Regions from separate parts of the Homo sapiens genome. Here region 2 is linked to region 1. Evidence: promoter capture Hi-C in 16 types of primary human blood cells and fetal thymus (Javierre and others, 2016). All regions are on one chromosome and are shown on one strand. Each heading gives the region's core, a stretch centred on a gene start or on the middle of the fragment in contact. The rest is flanking DNA. Distances are from core to core; before and after follow the strand shown.

What was found. Contacts are between HindIII fragments. The CHiCAGO score rates a contact against its expected background, and 5 or more counts as called.
Region 2: a contact is called between the fragment with the promoter of DYRK3 here and a fragment that was not itself captured in region 1, in 1 of 17 cell types (endothelial precursors). The highest score is 5.2, in endothelial precursors.

Annotation. Positions count from the first base shown.
Region 1 is chr1:207,498,732-207,501,431 of GRCh38, forward strand. All of the region lies in intron 1 of CR1 (complement C3b/C4b receptor 1 (Knops blood group)), which reads left to right. Among named protein-coding and RNA genes, the nearest start is that of CR1, 3.9 kb to the left of the region's middle. RefSeq lists an enhancer at 829-888. The HindIII fragment of the contact is 257 bases long and covers 1,127-1,383 here.
Region 2 is chr1:206,634,121-206,636,820 of GRCh38, forward strand. It overlaps DYRK3 (dual specificity tyrosine phosphorylation regulated kinase 3), which reads left to right and starts at 1,416. Exons shown (of 3, transcript NM_003582.4): 1 at 1,416-1,660. The coding sequence starts at 1,584. It overlaps DYRK3-AS1 (DYRK3 antisense RNA 1), which reads right to left and starts at 1,548. Exons shown (of 2, transcript NR_183645.1): 1 at 1,480-1,548; 2 at 76-863. RefSeq lists silencers at 1,276-1,695, 1,746-1,855. The HindIII fragment of the contact is 1,008 bases long and covers 716-1,723 here.

The DNA.
Region 1 (2,700 bases), core at 5-2,504:
CCAGGGCATGATGGTGGGTGCCTGTAGTCCCAGCTACTCGGGAGGCTGAGGCATGAGAATCGCTTGAACCTGGGAGGCGGAGGTTGCAGTGAGTCGAGATCGTGCCATTGCACTCCAGCCTGGGTGACAGAGCGCAACTCCAAATCAAAAAAAAAAAAAAAAGAAACAAACAAACAAAACAAAAAACAATAAAGGGCAGGAAAAGAATGGAAGACAAAAAATAGAAACAGAGAACAAGAGAAAAAAAGCAACAAATAAAAACCAGTAACAAAACTAAAGCAACTATATCAACAATCATTTTGAGTGTCAATGATCGAAATGCACCATTTGAAACAGATCATCAGAGTGGATCAAGAAACAAGACCCAACTATATACTGTGTACAACAAGACCGTTTTAAATATAGACAATATATATGAAAAGTAAATGGATAAAGATATACCATGCTAATGCTAGTCACAGAAAGCAGGAATAGCTGTGTTAATTTCAAACACAGCAGACTTCAGACCAAGAAAAATTATTAGGGATAAAGAGGGGCATCATATAATGATAAAGGGGCCAATTATCCAAGAAGACGTAACAATATCCCATATGTATGCACCTGATGGAGAGACAAAATACGTGAGGCAAAACCCATAGAACTGCAAGGAGAAATAGATGGATTTACTATCATAGTTGGAGACTTCTATGATATCTTTCTGATATCAGAAAAGGTGCTGAAGTCTCCTTATCAGAAATGGGCAGATTCAGCAGGCAGAAAATCCGTAAGGACATACTTGAATTCAACAGCACCATCAATCCACTTGGGTATAATTGACATATATAGATGACTTCATCCACAACAGCAGAGCACATATTCTCCCGCTTACATTCATGGGGATAGACCACATTCTGAGCCATAAAATAGTACACGAATTAAGCTTTACCAGGCAGTGTTTAATATAGGGTGGACTCTGGCGCCCTCACGTGGTCCTCATATAGGATCTGGTTTGGTTATCCCTGCTAGGTAAAGGTGCAAGATAGAAGGGAAGTTCCAATTTGCTTTCTGTGCTTTGTGGTGTATTTTGGTTTACATATGCTCAGATGAGTGGATGTGTGATTTATATTATCTATTTTAATCTAAAATAAGCTTCACATTTGGACAGGTAACATCAAAAGTGTCCTACACAGAAATGCTGGGTGAAGATCCCAGTAATAAAACCAACTCCAGAAAACAAGAAAATGGTAGAGTTGACAATCCCTCTCACCCTCTCCGCAAAGACACATGTATACACATTTTTTGTCAGAGGCATTAAGTAGAAGAAATGCTGTCAGTCTAATCACAACTGATCACAACTCGATGAAACCAAAAAACCTAGAAAGTATCATGAAGACTGTCGAAATAAGCTTTACATTCACTATTGTGAACAGAGAGACTCAATGTGACTGTTTTTTGTCCCGTTAGATGTTAGCTAATGATTGTGCTAAGTCATGATGATTAACAAAGCATTTAAAATATTTATTTTATCTGTGTTACATTTCAAAAATTTATATTGAGGCATATAATTTATGTTCGTGTACATATATAATTTATAAATTTATATATTTGAAAGGGCATGCTCTTTTTTTAAACTGATAGAGGTGCCTAAGCAAAGCAAGTGCAAATCTATTCCTTAAAGGGTAAGTATGCAGAATGGAAAGCAGAGTGTTCTTTGGGTTGACAGCTCATATTGCAACAGACATGAAAGTGATGATGTGTTAATTGTGCATATAGCACAGAATACATCAACTTGCTTTGAATGGAATATCTGAACCAGGAGAATGTGAAAGTGGGCTGAGTCATACAAGACAAAACCCGAAATGAGATAACAATACATACCCACTAGAATGACTAAAATGAAAAAGATTGACCGAGCCAAGTGTTGGCGATAAGGTGGAGTAACTGGAATTATAATATACTGCTATTTGGCAGGTAAAATTATAACATTAACTTTAGAAAATAGTTCAACAGATTCTTAAAACCTTAGACACACACTCAACATTTTACTCTTAGGTTTTTACCCAAGAGAAATGAAATCATATGTCCACACAAAGACTTGTACATGAATTTTCATAGCAGTTTTGTTTGTAATAGCCAACACGTGGAAACAATCCAAATGTCCCTCAACAAGTAAATGGATAAACTAAATTAAGATATATTTATGCAATTGAATATTACCCAGCAACTAAAGGAAACAATTTGTATACATGCAGCAACCTAGATGGATCTCTAATTATGCTGTGTGAAGGCTAAACCATAAAAAAAAACCTGAGTGATTTCCTTTATACAATAGGATATAAATGAAGTGATTTAGGTTATATGAAATTTTAGAAAGTCAAATCAATCTGTAGTAAGAGAAAACCACCTGAGTTATTTCCTTTATATGATAGGATATAAACGAAGTGATTCGGGTTATATGAAATTTTAGAAAGTCAGATCAATCTGTAGTAAGAGAAAACACATTGAAGGTTGCCTAGAGAAGGAAGTGGATGTTTGGATGGATTACAGAAGGGCATGAGGGAACTCTGTGTGGGTGGGATGTATGATGGAAACGTTTATTGTCTTCATTTTGGTGATGGTTTCACAACGCATACATATGTTATAAGTAATCGAATTGTACACTTCAAATACTCATCAATCATTGTATGTAATATATCTTGATAAAGCTATAAAAACTTTTAA
Region 2 (2,700 bases), core at 166-2,665, 860 kb before region 1:
TGCTCTGGTTGCAAAGTGGGGGAAGGGAGAGACAAAAAGAAAAAGTTTATTTATAAAATAAACTTTAAAAAATCATCATGGAAGAAAACTTTTTTATTTATATGTATATCATAGAAAGGCTAAAGTAACATTGATCACAAAAAATAAAATTCCCCAAACCAATAGATTATTAGTTTATACAGTGAAGATACTTTGGCTCTTTAGGGACATTTTTACTTGGAGTCACGAGAACAGAGAATATGACTTTTAGTCACACGGAAATGAGCCTTGGATGGGAATTTTTAAGATTTATGGGAACTGTGTGCTATGCTGATTTGGGACAATAAGCGTTCTAGTCCCACCAGGTGGCGCCCGCGTTCGGCATTCTGAGAACGTTTGGTGTCTTCTGGACTCCAGAATCTGGACGGTCCGACCGCCTCGTGCTTGGTGGGTTTACAAACTCTGACTGGTTCTTACCACCCATCTAACAGGAAATTTTTTTTTTTTAAAAACAAACCAACCCATAAAACATCTGACCAGATGCCACACTCAAGAAAACACTTGTATTCGGGTGTTTTAACCTCCAACGATGGAAATCTGCTTAACATTGGTGTTTCTGAGGTGTCTTAGCATCAGAAAAGGAAAAAGACACATATACACACATTCTAAGGAAAAAGTCAGGAAGGGCCTTGCAGAGGTAGGTCCTGGTGCGGCAAGAGGACGGTTAGGCGTTAGAAGCTTCTAGTTCAGGCTTTGCCGCTTCATGCTCATGAGGAAGCGCGGCTCCTTTGGCCTCAGTTTCCTGCGCTGCCTTCCCGTCTGTGGCTGACTGTTGCAGGGTAGTCAGACAAAGGCCCAGCTTCTATTCTGCATCCCAGCTAAGTCTGTAAAAGACGAAAGTCGTCGGGTACCTCCGTTACTGAGATCAAATGTTCATAAATGGAAGCATCGTGTCAATAAATGGGTTTATTATTATTGCTTTCTTATGTAACTCACCAACCCCCGGAGGGCCGTCCCCGCGGTGGGAAAGCCTAAAACAATACACATATGTTTTCACTAATTTAAAATTCATATTGAAGCGGGACGTTTTAGAACTTCCAGGACGCAACGTGCTATTAAGGGACCGTGAGGGGCGGGCAGCCCTTCTGAGATCGCGGGCTAACTGCTACTTTCACCCCTCCTTCTCCGGACCCCTCTCTCCGTCTACAGCTCGCGCCAGGGACCCAAACAGCCTAGGCCGCGAGCTCCTCGCCTCCAACCTCCCGCCTCCCGCGCCAGTACTAGCACCCGCTAGGAGCGCCGCGTGGCCTTTACCGGCCACGGGCCCCGCCCCTGTGCGTCAGCCCGTAGCTGCGCCGAGGCGTTTCCCGGGGGCGTGCCGCGGTTGCTAGGCGACCAGACCGCTCCCCCTCCCGCCCCTGGAGCTGCGTCTCCCCACTTCCCAGCCGGGGCCAGTCGGGAGCGAAAGTGCGCTGAGCTGCAGTGTCTGGTCGAGAGTACCCGTGGGAGCGTCGCGCCGCGGAGGCAGCCGTCCCGGCGTAGGTGGCGTGGCCGACCGGACCCCCAACTGGCGCCTCTCCCCGCGCGGGGTCCCGAGCTAGGAGATGGGAGGCACAGCTCGTGGGCCTGGGCGGAAGGATGCGGGGCCGCCTGGGGCCGGGCTCCCGCCCCAGCAGCGGAGGTAACGGCGCCACGGGGTAACGGGCTGGAGGCGCCACAGGGAGCGGCTGGCGCTGGCAAGCGAAGCTTGGGGGTGGGGAGGAGGTAGAGTGAGCCCTCAGTAGGAGGGACGAGGGCAGGGGTCTGACTGCCTCCCCGGGACCGCCCCCACCTCCTCTCTATCAGGGCCCCCTCCCCCCATCCCTGTCTCACCGGGCGCGGGGGACGGGGCTAGAGCGGAGTTAGAGCAAGAAGAATTTCCACCCCTGGATTCCCTCTGAAACCCTAGATCGGGGTATATGTTAAGGGATTACGAAAATCTAGGACTTTTTGTGGGGCTTTTTATTAAAGGGGGGGAGCCCGGGAGCAATACCTTGGAAAGAAGCCCTGTTGCTTAGAGCGGATAACCAACGGCTGAACTCTTGGGGTTTGCTGTGAGGGGTGCGGTCTAGCTTCGAATGTACAGGTTATGGGCTATGCTGGGTACGGCTTTCTCCGGATCCTATTTTGAGAGATTCCCCACCTTGCGTTGTATTTTACACCTAAATGGAGAGAAGAGACCCTTGCTCCCCGCTTTATTTGCATGCAGACTCTTGTTAATTTCCTCTGGCTGTTAGTCACTAGGCAATTTTGCACGTTTTCTTTTTCTTTATATATGTGGACGCCTATCCTGGTTTGTTTTATCAGGCTTATGGCAAAGGGTCAGTCACATCCAGAATATTTGGTTTCTGTTGGTGAAGCCATTCCCTGTTAAAAATATAAATAATTCTATCAGAATGTGAGCATGTTTTTAAAAAGAGCATTCCAAAAATATTTGTAGCGGTTTTTTTCCCTTTATATTTTTATAACACATCTATAAAGAAAACTCTAGAATGAATTTCACAAAACAGTTTTTAAGGTGACCAGAATATTCCAGGATATTTTAAAAGACGTTAAAAAATTATTCCTCTGCAACATCATCATTGTTATATTCATAGTGTATCATGTAAAATGATACAATGAAATGCTGATGTGTGTAACTGGGAAATCCGTGTTCTTGGTAGCAGATGAAATACATTATTC